Linked DNA regions of Homo sapiens: regions 1 and 2 are each linked to region 3. The links are contacts of gene promoters, found by promoter capture Hi-C in human tissues and cell types (Jung and others, 2019). All regions are on one chromosome and are shown on one strand. The core of a region is centred on a gene start or on the middle of the fragment in contact, and the rest is flanking DNA. Distances in the headings are between cores, read along the strand shown.

The links. Contacts are between HindIII fragments. The study calls those that stand out against the background at their distance.
Region 1: a fragment that was not itself captured here is called in contact with the fragment with the promoter of FRG2C in region 3 in 5 of the 25 tissues and cell types used here (dorsolateral prefrontal cortex, liver, mesendoderm cells and 2 more).
Region 2: a contact is called between a fragment that was not itself captured here and the fragment with the promoter of FRG2C in region 3, in 1 of the 25 tissues and cell types used here (mesenchymal stem cells).

The regions. Positions count from the first base shown.
Region 1 is chr3:75,254,315-75,258,851 of GRCh38, reverse strand. No RefSeq gene overlaps it. Among named protein-coding and RNA genes, the nearest start is that of MIR4444-2, 42 kb to the right of the region's middle. RefSeq lists an enhancer at 3,072-3,638. The HindIII fragment of the contact is 5,517 bases long and covers 1-4,537 here.
Region 2 is chr3:76,093,300-76,098,043 of GRCh38, reverse strand. It overlaps a transcript of ROBO2 not described here. Among named protein-coding and RNA genes, the nearest start is that of ZNF717, 310 kb to the right of the region's middle. The HindIII fragment of the contact is 8,540 bases long and covers 1-4,744 here.
Region 3 is chr3:75,661,819-75,666,242 of GRCh38, reverse strand. FRG2C (FSHD region gene 2 family member C) reads right to left here and starts at 1,915. Exons shown (of 4, transcript NM_001124759.5): 1 at 1,686-1,915; 2 at 1,347-1,424; 3 at 1,040-1,117; 4 at 1-716. The coding sequence starts at 1,863. The coding sequence ends at 202. The HindIII fragment of the contact is 22,089 bases long and covers 1-4,424 here.

The DNA.
Region 1 (4,537 bases), core at 1,358-3,857, 410 kb after region 3:
ATATTGCTGCAATTAATCATTGTCCATGTGCTCTGAAGCCAAGGAGAATTCATGTACCATTTACTTGGATTTTTAAAACTTATCCTTCCATAAGAATTCCCTGTCTAGCTTTAAGAGTAAACAGAATTTCATCTTACCCTTCCTATCCACAGTTTTCTTGCTATTTATCAACATGACCTAACTCATTAGAGTTGGTTCCATCCCTATGCTGTACGCATGATGCCTTCTTTCCTAACTGCTCCTCACTTCACTGCGGTCCCTTCCTGCCTCATCCAATAGCTATGCAGTCTTTATTACCCAGATAGATGTAACTTTCTTGGATATATCCAGTGCACTTAGATCTGTGCCTTCTCTCTATTCCAATGACTATAACCTGAATCTAATCAATTAATTGTCCTATACTGTCTTATTTACCAGCAGTTTTTTTTTAATTTCTCACTTATACATTAATATATCAACTCCCCAACCATATGCTGAGAGAGGAATTTCTCTCTCTCTCTCTCTATCTCTCTCTAGTGCAGGCAGAATAATGGTCTCCCAAAGATGTCCATAGCTAATCCCCAGAAACAGTGAATATGTTAGGTTGTATAGCAAACGACAGTTAAAGGTGCTACCCAGCTGACATTAAAATAGGAAGATTATCCCAGACTTTCAAGGTGGACCTAATGTCATCTCTTCAAAAGTGCAGGAGGAGACAGAAGCAAGAGAATTGGAAAGACGGCAGCCTCAAAAGTATTCAGCCAAACCTTGCTGGTTTTGAAGATGGAGGAAGGGAGCCATGAGCCAAGGAATGTGGATGACCTCTAAAAGCTAGAAAAAGCCACAGAATGGTTTCTTCCTTACAGCTCCCAGAAGGACTGCAGCCCTACAGATACTTTCATTTTAGCCTAGTAATCTATTTTGGACTCTGACCTCCAGAACTATAACATAAAATATGTATTACTTGACACTAAATTTGTGGTAATTTGTTGCAGCAGCAATAGAAAAAGCTCCATCTATTCATGGCTTTAGACAGGCTCTGGTAGGAGAGGTCTTGAGGTAGAGGGAAGAAGCATAGAGAGGAGACAACACAAAACCTAAGAGTCTCTGTCTTACACAGGCTGCCATTATCTTTAGAGTTAGAAAGACACGGCTTCTACTGACCCCATTACTTGTTAAACTCTTGAACATGTGGCTCAACCTCTCTAAGACTCAGCTCCTTCCCTCAAAATGAAAGAAGGGAGGATTTATAAGGTATCATCCAACATAGGCTTATTAGGATTTTAGATATATAAACTTCTAACTGCTAAGCTTTACAGGCATCATTTAGCAAAATTTCTCTTTCTCTATCTAAACATACCAGTTTTGTAGGAAATTCTCAAGCCTCAGAATAGATAACAAATGGAGTATGTAGGGAAGGAAAAATCTTTTCCCTTTACCCATCTGCAATGGACTGAATGTTTGTGTTCCCCCAAAATTCATATTGAAACTTGAATCCCAATATAATGGCGTTTAGAGGTTGTGGCCTTTGGGAAGTAATTAGGTCATGAGAGTGGAACTGTCATGAATGGGACTAGTGCCCTTACAAGAGCAGGCTGGACAGCTAGCTTGTTCTTTTTACATTATGTGAGGATACAAGGAGATGCCAACTGTGCAAACTGGAAGAGGACTCTTACCAGACCCTAACTATGCTGGCACTCTGATCTAAGACTTCCAGCCTCCAGGATTGTGAGAAATAAATATTGGGTCTACGGTAATTTGTTATAAAAGCCCGAATAGAATAAGACACTATCTTATGTTCATTGTAAACTAAACTCACAAAAGACAGATTAATATGAGAAAAACAAAGAGTTTATTAATATGTGCAGTGCACATCACTTGGGAGAAACCTCAGTGACAAGTGACTCAAAGGGGTGATTAAACTTGAGCATACCAGACTGGGCAGCATAGCAAGACCACATCTCTACAAAAAGTACAAAATTAGCTAGGTGTGGTGGTGTGCACCTGTAGTCTTAGCTACTTGGGAGGCTGAGGCTAGAGGATCCCTTGGGCCAGGAGTTGGAGGCTGCAGTAAACTATGATCACATCACTGCATTGCAGCCTGGGTGACAGAGCAAGACCTTGTCTCAGGAAAAATAAAAAAATAAAAAAAAAAGAAAAAGAACTTGTGCATATATAGTACGTTAGCAAATAATAATAAATTTGTAGAAAAATGGCAAGACATAAGAGAAAAGACTTTTAGCCTTCCAAGGGCTATAACTTGTGGTGGGCTATATATAGGGGCTGAAACTAATAGAAGATAAAATTTCTTTTAGTAAAGTTATATAGGTTCCTCTGGTGCCATCTCTGGGCTGATAAGAGTCCAGCATTGTCTCAGGTGATTAAGAATTGTTCTAGTCTTCCTAGTAGAGAAAGGAAGGACAGAGAGTGTGTCCTGTGTCTGTTTTTTCCTCAATTGCCTTTAGCTCAAAACAATTCTTATGCCAGAGTAGTATATTTTGGGGTGGTATACTCTGAACCCCTCAAGTACCTCAACCTAGATTACTAGCTCAGAGAAGATATCACAGTTAGGCAAAAGCCCGTTGATGTTGGGAACATGTAAACTTTGCATGTATTAACAGGAGCAGCATTGTACCTTTACTTCATTAATCAACTCTGTCCCTGTTAGCTTCAACTAGCATTTATGCTCGAGGAGCACAGATTTTCTGCAAGGCTGTGATTGCCGGAGAAAGTCATTTCATTCTTCAAAGAACTTGGTGGAATTGAAAAGACTAGAGACTGGCTTTAGTGGTTGCCATACTCCCATCCAGGATACTCTTAACATGTGCTGGAATACTGCCATATCTTCTAAACATCAAAAAAGAAAAGAAAAAAGTTAAAAAAAAAAAAAAAAGGCTTAGGAGTCTGGTTCAGCTCTGACATGTAAAGAACGTGGACGTCATACTTGGCCTATGACAAGAAACAGTTGAACCAACTGAAAATCAATGACTTTTCTTGGACTCATCGGGTGCATCCAGAGAGACACACCTGAGATCTGCTTACCTGGAAGAGAAGAAGCTGGTGCCATACACTGATAGGAACATCATATGGTAAATGTAATGAATTGCTGCGGGTTGTGTATGAATTACTGTGAGAGTGAGAAACTATTAGGAGCTGGATATTTAGGGGTAGGGGTCTCCCACACTTTAAAGGGCTTTATATTTAGGAACCCCACCAGGTTCTCACAGTAAACATCTGAAAAGATGTTTTTTCATGGCTCTGGCAGGTGGAAGGGAAGAGTAATCATTGTGAAATAGCTCAGTCTTCTCCTTAACAAAGGCTGACACTCCAAAAGAAAGACTCTGCTAAGAGTTTATCACAGTAGAGGCATTCCTCCCACTGAAGCTCCCTTTAGCCTCCTGGTCTCACCTAAGAAGGGAAAACAAATCAACAGCAATCAAGGTTTCAAGGAAATACAATGCGGATGCTGCAGCCAGGGAAGGGAATAGGGAGAGATAGGGGGATAAAAGCTAGATCATGAAGGTCATAGCCCCAGGATATAGACACTGAGATTTAAGTGGGGCATGGTGGTGGAAGTGCCTGTAACCCTAGCCTCTTGGGAGACCCAGAAGTTCTATCACATCACTGCACTCCAGCCTGGGTGACAGAGCAAGACCCTATCTCTGACACAGGAGCTAAAAAGAAATTATTTAGGCAGATAGTGAAGGTAACAGAGTCCTCGGCAAGGTTTCCCTTTTAATAAAAAGCACCCCCCAAATAATTTCTTTTCTAACAAAAAGCAGCCTGCAAAATCAAGCTGCAAGCATAGATAAGCAAGTGGAAGCTTGCACAGATGAATGCCGGCAGCTGTGCCAATAGAAAAAGGACACCTGGAAGTCAGGTATATTCAACATAGGGGTCCCTTTTCTTTGTCGCCACATGTGCAGTAAAGAAATGGGCAGCATGGCGCAGGCCAGGTAGAAAACTCCATTTACATAATAAAAGATCAGGGTTGGATGACCAGCCTCTTTGTGTGCTATGTAAATGGCACATCTGGTCCAACCAATCCTCTGTGCCCTTTGTAAATCAGACACTGCCTCCTCAAGCTCATCTGTAAAAGCAGCTGCATCTTGTTGCAAGGCTAGAAACCCATTCCAGTCCCCTTCCTCTGCACAAGGAAGCTTTCTTCTTTCTTTTGTCTATTAAACTTCCGTTCTTTTTTTTTTTTTTTTTTTTTTGAGACGGAGTCTCGCTCAGTACAAACAGGGTTTCACCATCTTGGCCAGGCTGGTCTTGAACTCCTGATCTCATTATCCACCCGCCTCGGCCTCCCAAAGTGCTGGGATTACAGGCGTGAACCACCGTGTCCAGCCTAAACTTCCACTCTCAGGCGCACTCTTTATGTTTCTGCATCCTTGATTTCCTTGGCATGAGACAATGAACCTCCAGTATTTCCCCAGACAACAACACAGCTTCATCTCAAAAAAAAAAAAAAAAAACCACTAAGATTTAATTGGAGGATTTTAATCATGCAATATCTCTCCTACATCTTAACACCATACCATCAGGTTTCAACACA
Region 2 (4,744 bases), core at 1,754-4,253, 430 kb before region 3:
TGAACTGATCCATGAGCTCACTATGGCAAAAAAATAAATGGAGAATTTCAAGGGTGTCAAAAAATGCTGTTTTATTTACCAAGAGTTGCTTTGATCTTGTGAAACTTTGATTTTATTAATCGTTGTTTTGATTTTCTAAGTGTCCTAGGGGAAATAAAGATGTCACATTTTTCATATTCCTAAACCCAACTTGACCTCTTATTCATTCATTTTTTAAGCTACTACTCATCAAGAACTAGAATATATTCTGGAGAAAAAGTGGGGAAGCAAAACAGAGTTCCAGCCCTCACAGAGATTACAGTTGCATGGACTTGTGTATGTGTATTCGCTGCTTCCTACGTTCTGCACATGTTTCCCACATATTTTTTAAAATGTCCCCATCTCAGTGAGATCCTCCCTGATTACCCTGTTAATTTTTGTTTATTTTAATTTCCACCACTAAACCTCCACTCTTTGACATTTTCTATCTCTCTTTGCTAATCAGAAAACTTATCACCATCTGCCATGCACAGTCTTGCCTATCACAATACTCATTAGTCTCCTTAGATTTAGCTAAATATTCAGAATTCTAAGACTATCACATGACACACCAGGAACTCATCTATGCAGAAGGATATTAATGAACCACAGCTGGCCAGCACGGAAGCATCAATAGCTCTTCTCAGCAGGAGCCCCTGCTGCAGTCCCAAGAACGGACCATGTAGCTCTCCAGGAGCAAGTTCAGGTGCTAGGCTATGAGATCTGCACTGGGAACGGGTTGGGGCCATCCTGACAAATAGGCTCATGCCGTCAGAGAAGCTAGGATTTCTTTTAACAACTCTGTGGCTGCAGCACATAGGGTTGGCACAGAGTACATGCTTCATTAACAAGATTCACCACATTCAGTAAAACCCAAAATACGGCATTCCCACGACATATTGATAGTCTCTTTACATTTCCCACCAGTCCAGATGCAACTGACCAACCTGGGGTCACTTTTTTTTAATCATAGATAATGTTGCTGAGTAATGTAGCAGACAATCTATGTTTACCAGGTTTCCAGGAGAACAGAACTAGAGAGTTAGCCAAAAGTCAGATTCTCATGTAGCAAAGACAGAGAGTTTTGTCAGTCGTCTGCCCATAACTAATTTTTCCAATGCATGTTTCTCACTAGACTATAAGCATTACAAAGGCAAGGATATGTGTCTGTTTTGTTCATGGTGGATGTTCATTAACTCGTCTCTACAATATTGTGGTTACATAGTTACATTGTTGTATAAATGATTATGTTTCAGTTTACTTTTCTATGAAATGAAGATAATAGCAACACCTATCTTGCTGGGTTGTAGTAAGGATTAAATGAGACAATACTGGTAAAACCAAGTGTTTTGCATGATGCCTAGCATATTGTCAATACTCAGTAAATGCTTAATGTTATTATTTGTATTATTAATTATCATAATCTATAGAAATTCAGAGATAAATTCTAAAACAAATCAATAAATGACCTAACCACAAATACATAAAAAAATAAACACTCAAATGCATTGGATTCTACTGTTGAATCATGCTGAAAATCCTTCTCTGTGTTACTTACCTTTGAATTGGAGGTAATTAAAACAAGATAATGTGATCTTCCTCTGGGTTAACAGCACAATTTCTCCGTAAAATATACCTCTTCTGGGGAGATTTTTTTTAAAGATTAGTTTAATTTCTCTTATTTTTAAAGTGCTTTTCTTCTGAATATTCTTGTTACCCAAGTTATGATGCTGGCTAGTTTATTATCTCAAAGTTATTTATGAGTCATTCAGCATGAGAATGTAGGTCAGAAGGCTCTTCTTAAAATGTAATTGATCATAAAGGTGGCCCAAGTAAACTCGAGGTCTGTGATGGAAGATGGCCCAGAATCACAGGATTCTCAGAACATGAGAACTGCCTATGACATGCACTGCACACATGAGGAGATTATTGCTTACGAGGCCTGTCAATATGGGTTCTTTTTATCTCCTTAGAGATAAAGGTTATTTTGTTATGTTATACCTTATGAGGATATTCTTTAATACCTTTTAAAATTTCACTTAAGTACATGACTTGATATTTGTTCAGCTTAATGTTTGGTAAATTATTTTCTAGAAAATTATTAATGTCATCAATATCTTCAAATGTATTAGCTTAGTATTATATATTTTACACATTTATGTCTTTGCAATTTCTATTTCTAATTTTGCTTTGTTTGTATGTTAGATTTCCTTGTTATATTTACCAGATGATTATCTTGTGTGTGTGTGTGTGTGTGTGTGTGTGTGTGTGTGTGTCAAGCATACTATGTGTCTTGTATATAATTCATAATATATGTGCCATACACACACATTGACAATACCATAGATAGTACTACAGTATTTTCTATGTGGAGTTTTGTTGTTATCCAATAAATTTTAGATATTCAGTGGACCCTAAGTCCCCATATGCCTAATAATAGGTTAGTGTTGCCTTCATATATAGACAACCATGGAGCTTTGACATTTCATTATTTGAGTTATCATTATATCAATTGATATAATGTTATTTATAACTAGTGGTCAGCCCAACCTATGCTTGTCTTATTTGGTTTTGCACAGATGTTTGTAACAAATTTAATTTTTTTTCTTTTATTATATTATCTTTCCTTTTTGGTTTAGTGATTTCACATTTCTCTTTATTATTGGAAAAAATTATTTGTTTCTCTGCAGGACTTCATTAATTTTTTCTCTTACATAATGGGCCTTTTAAATTCACAATGTATAGTTGCCTTAGCTTTCAGGTTTTTTTTCTATTAAGTCTTTCACTACTGCTTATCTCCCATGTGTTCTGATATCAGCAACAAAGTTCCATATTTGGATTTTCTCTCTCTGTTCACCATATTATCTTCTCATTCTCACTGTGTCTTTTGCATCTTAGTCTCATACTCACCCATACTCAGCCCAAAATTAAAAGAGAGCTTTTTTAGTGTGTCTTCCATATCGCTTTTTCCTACAATTTAATTCTACTTCTTATTGCTTTTGATGCTGACATTAATGCTGAGATTATTGTTTATATTATATAATCTTTAAAAGCTTTACCGCCACCTAACTCAGAAGTCACTTTTCATATCAGTCAGTTGTCCCATCTCATCTATCCTGCTTCATGAACTCTAACTTATCTAAAATTTGTTGATAGTACAAAGCATCTACAATTTATTTCTATTTGGAAAAGAAGAATTTCCTTCAGTAACCTGAAAGCTGTATTCTATCCTGTAAACATATTGGCTGATTTTGTAGTTTCCCTTTCTCCCTTATTTATTCTTTTTGAAATGAACAATATTTACATAGTTTTGTTATTTGATGATAGAGGAAGAATGAATTCTCCTTCCTTGAATATTTCAGGTTTCATTTCACAGTGAAGATACTGCTTTCAAAGAAACAATGGGGTTACTATAGTCAATCATAACATAATTGCACATTCTAAAATAACTGAATCATGGTGTCATTTTGTAAAGAGCAGTACATTTTATTTGTGGATCTTCCAGAGAAGACTTAATTCTTTCCTTGCTAGATGGAGTCTCAGGGCATCCTTCTCCCACAACTCTTCTAAGCCCAGCTGTATTTCGTTATTGACTGTGAATCCTTGAAAATAAAACAAAATCTCAAACACATGTCTCTCTTAGTGGCACTGTGTTGTTGGGAAGATTTGCTGGAGAAAAATTAGTGAGGGCTGCCTGCCCTGGCAGGTCTCCTTCCTGCTTCTGAGGATTAAGAGCGCTTTGCCGCATCCATCTGGTCACTGGATGGGCCGATCCTACAAGGCAGGCACACAGAATTGATTATTTTGAGAAAAATTCTTTCAGACTTTCTGAGGGGTGTATTTCTTTGTTTCTTTAGATTGTGTGTGCTTGTGTGTGTGTGTGTGTGTGTGAGTGCGAGTGTGCACTCGAGATTGTTATACACTTTCCAGCACATTCCCCTATTCTTCCTCAGGGCTCCATGTACCTGTGGTTGTCAGGAATTCTTTTTGTGATCTGGCACATATTTGGTCCATAGCTTTTAATTTTTTTCACAAATCTGAGAGGGAAAATTAGAAACCTCAAATGCTTGATATCTTAACCAGACAACCCTATGAATATTTCTAACTATGTTGTTGTAGATTCTTATACTTATGAGGCTGACCAAGTCTATAAAAGAGACTTTTATTCTAAAAGTTGATAACACAGAAGTAGTATAAAATGCCACACATTTTCCTGTAAACTATCACTATCATTGACTCTACCATGTTTTCTATAAGGTGGCTTATTTCTCTGATATAAACATTTATAGATATAAAAAGTAATATTTATGGTTCATCCCTCTTTAACTGAAATAAGGAAACCATTTAGATATGAAGCTCAACTGTAAATTTTAGGATCTTAACTGAAAACAAATTCCATTTGAGTTCTTAAAAAGAATGAGGTTGGAGAAAAAAAATCATTCCAAGCAATTTATATAAATATATATAACTATAAAATGATAATATATATGAGAATATATTGTGCCTAATATATATGTATAAATATTTTATATTATAATATCTTACACATAATATATTATAAACTGTATTTTTTTCAAGCAGGCCTGTGTGACTGCTAGTAAATATTTGATTTGCCGTATGCATTTTTGACAGAAAGAAAATTGTATGAATAAACAATGCCAAAATCTCTTCTTGTGTGGCAAAGATGATCTATTTTAGCATGCTATGTTAATGTCTACTTGTTATA
Region 3 (4,424 bases), core at 666-3,165:
TGTCTATAGCCTTAGCGGTCTGCAAAATTCAGGGCTCACCATTCTGAGTATACCGCTCAAGTTTCTTTCCTATGACTTCTTCAGGTTCTGTCATTTATTAACACAGTGCATCTAAAATTGTCACTGCTGGTCGTCTGGAAGAATCTGAGAAGAAGCAGGTCCTTGTTCTCATTCCCAGAGCTGCATCTCTGCTGAATAGGGTCAGGGTGCTCCCAGCTTAGCCTCATCTGATCCACTGACAGGCTCAGTTATCTCCTGCCCAGGGAAGGGATGGGCTTCTCTATCCAGGGCTGAATCCCCAGGACCAGGCAGTGTGGCTGGGACAAGCCAGCTCTCAGCAGGGAAGACATAAGCTGCCTGAGTGGCCATGGAATACAAGGTCTGCACCTGGGCACACAGAGGCCCCCGGAGCCGAGTGAGCAGTGTCAGCTGCTCACAGGTCAGTGGAGAATGGATCTGCTGTGCCCACACCTGGGCTAGGTCTTGATAAACAGCCTCCGACATAGCTCGCACAGAGGTCACCAAGCTTTTTCGAAGTGACGGTGTTTGGACTTCTAGGGCCCGAGACCTATGCCGCTTGCTGCGCCCAGTGCAAGCCCTGGAACTTCCCCTATGGTGGGCATCACAGGTCTCCTGGATTTCACTGTTGTGCACAGCAGTGGAGGATCTTGATTTTTTATTCAACGTCAAGTTGCACTCCTCTTCTGGACAGTTCCCTGCAAAGAAAGCATGTGAGAGACTCACCAGAGCAGTCCCCACAGACCCTCATTTCCAGAACCCCCTGTGCACCCAGGTGAACCCCATTTGTCTCTCCCACTCCTTCCTGACCATCTCAGGACTGGAATGAAGTGAGGCTGAACCACTTGTGAGTCCCCAAATATTCTCAGAGTGCTAGGATCTCAAAAATTTACTTGTCAATAAGTAATTCCCTTTCCGCTCAAGCCTCGTATAAAAGTTTCCTGATTATTTGCCTTTTGGGGCAAACCAAAAACAAAAAAACCACCACCACCACCAACAACAACAAACACCAAGATTCTACCTGCTCTGTCTTGGCAGATATCCTTGGAACTGATTTTTCTTTTCCTGCAGTTTTCCTGATATGAGCTGGACTCTGGTTCTGTGAACACAATGAGAGTTTGAGAAAGTGCCTCCAACTGAACACCCTGAAATTCCTAGTCCATCCTGGACACACAGGAGCTGAGGTTACCGCCAAACCCCAGCTCTCTTCTGTTCTCCAGTGTCCAGGATCTGTACTGCCCTGGCTGCCAAGGAGCTCCCAGTTTCCTTGCCAGGGGAGCCTGTGTTGCTGCCCTGTCCCTTCTCACCTTGAAAGAGTCAAATCTTACCTGATCCAGCAGTGCTGTTCCCGGCCTTGAGCTTGGTTTCCTCAGAATTCTCCTTGTTTGGATTGGGATCTGATCCTGCTGCAAGAGAAGGTTTAGATGGCTCACCTCTCCCTAGGCAGAGTCCCATAGTCTATCTCTCATGCATTTTTGAGAATCAGTCTTTCATGTGAAGCTCTTCTGCCAGTGTCATGAGTGAACACATTTCTCAAAGTCCCCTAAGGGCACTAAGCCATTTCCCATCCCCAAATCTCAAAATAAAACCCTGCTAAAGACACATAGCTCAGTATCCCTGATTCCAACCCTCCTTCCAGCCTCCATAGGAGCAGCCCAAGGCCTTACCTTGCCTTTGTGTGTGCTTCTCACTGGAATGGGAGAAGGCGGTCTTGCCTTTTCCTTTGAATGGTTTCTTCTCATCTGAGCCCTTTTCTGTAAAGGAGATCTGTTGGAAAGGGGGCTGGTCAGTGGAGCACTGGATGGAGGAACAGTGGAGATCGGGGTCTTCATTTCCCTTTCCCATGTTGAAGCTCAAGTGAAAGGTGCGCTCTCTCACATGTCCAAAGGCAGAGTGTGGGTTAGTCTGCTAGACCTGCCTTTTATACGTCCCTCGGCTGGGCGTGGCTTACTCTTATTGGCTGAAGAGTTTTCTCATTCCTGCCGCTTCTTAGAGCCTCAATCAGAAGTTTCTTGCTGTAGTTCTACTGGGGACCTAGACACAGTTAAGGGGAGACATTTTCAGGATCTTGTCATAGTGTCAAGAAAACAAAGAACCGGGAGCACAGGGACCGGAAGATCAGGGAATCATTTCTTCCGATTTCTGTCCCAGTTCCTACCTGGAGGTATTTATGATCCTGTTCACCTTTCAAGATGCACAATTAAACATGTCTATATTGACATATGTTATATATTTTGCACAGAAAGAGAATTTATTATACATAGTGTTAACGTTGTATGCATAGATATTATAATTTCTTAAATGCTTGGAAACAACAAATGTCAAATTATGGTTGAGTCTATTAGATCCACACATAGATGATGAAATAAAAGTGCAGAGAAAAAATAAATACCAAATGAAATGGCCCTTCCTACCTTAAAAATGGGGAAGATAATTAGATCAAATGCAATAAAATTGCATTGATTAGGTTGAGCCAGTGCTAACCTAATCAGCCCCTGATTCTAGGTGGAAAAACTTTCCCCCTTTCTCACCCTTCCTCAGTCATCCTGGGAGGGCCATTGTGTTCTGTGGAATTTATTCAGCCTCCCTAGTAAAAATGGACTTGGTCGCAAACAGGTAACCCAGCTGATCACAAGAAAAACAGCCTAGATTCTAAACATTCAGCTCCTGTCTTCACACCGCAGACACCACCTGAATCCCGTCAAAGCCCACATTATTTCTCAACAACCACCATATTCCAGGGCAGCCTCTCAAAATTGCCTCAGTGAGACGGGACAAAGTGTGGTGGAGCTCCAGGTTCAGAATAGCTGCCTCATCCCTTCCTACTGCGGCGGAGTCTGTCTCTGCTGGTCAGAGCCCTCCAACTAGCCTAGGCTACGTCCAAGCAAGTGTCCCCTAAAAGGACCTTCTTCTCTCCCCCTCTGCTGAGGAAAGCATGCAGGAATGAGACTTTCTATGTTAGGGAGTACTCGGCCTCCAGTCCCAAATGACTTGATTGACTGATGAAATGATTCCTTGAGGAGGAGAAAGACACGGGGAAGAGACTGTGTTGGGTGAGTCTGTGTTTTCCCAGCTGTGCTGCCTGTGCAAATAGTGGAACCAAAAAAGAATTAGTGGTAGACAGACACTGCCTAGTGAAATTGTCTGAATGTAAATGGAACTTATCATAATATGATATCATTATATATTATAATATTATAAAATTTATTTGACATCTAAATAAATTTTGATATGATATATAAAATTTGGTCAGGTAATTTTATAAGAAAATTGAGTTACATTTTTTAACAATATTAACATATAAACTCAATAGAAAGCTAGGAAAATTGTCTGCTCTTGTGTAAATGACTGCTTTTTGGATAACTCTGTAAAAGGTGTGAAGGGGGTCTGCTACTTACTTGATAGTAAGTACTTGATAAGACATCGACTTCCACATCTTTGCTGTTTTTAACCAGTGCCCTCTCAAGATATGAGAATATTTTACTCTAAGGAAGTATTTTCATAGATATCATAATAGGAATTTTGTTCATTTTAGTTAATAAATTATTATAACATTTAGTGATTATTAATAATTTATGTCACTGTTAAAATATACTCCTACAGACAACATATTACATATGTGTTTTGATTTGTCCTTTAATCTCAGGTAAATTTTTTAAATTTTTATTTATTAAATTCTATATATTTTAGATAAAAGAGACCTTGTAACTGCCATATGATGTACTTTCTTAGAAAGAGAAATTCTCAGGCAAAACTCAGGTCTGGCCAGGCACGGTGCCTCATGCCTGTAATCCCAGCACTTTGCGAGGCCAAGGCGGGTGGATCGCCTTAGGTCAGGAGTTCAAGGCTAGCCTAGCCAACATAAGGAAACCCCATCTGTACTAAAAATACAAAAAAAAAAAAAAAAAAAAAAATTAACTGAATGTGGTGGCTCACGCCTGTAATCCCAGCTAGTTGGGAGGCTGAAGTGGGCAGATCACCTGAGGTCAGGAGTTCAAGACCAGCCTGGGCAACATGGTCAAATCATGTCTCTACTAAAACATACAAAAATTAGCCAGATGTGGTGGCTGTTGCCTATAATCCTAGCTACTCGGGTGGCTGAGACTGCAGAATCACTCAAACCTGGGAGGTGGAGGTTGCCATGGGCCAAGATGGTGCCACTGCACTCCTGCCTGGACAATGAGTGAAAACTCTGTCGAAAGAAAAGAAAAGAAAAGAAAAGAAAGAAAAACTTGAGAGGCAATGCTTAGCTAAGTGGCTCTCAGCCCATGCTTCCAGTCATAATCACACGGCCAGCTTAAAGAAATACCATCACCTGTGCCCTCCCCAGAGACTCTGTCTATTGGTCTTGGTGGGAGCATCTATGTGGTTGTAATTAGAAAGTCAAATTGTCCCTCTTTGATAAT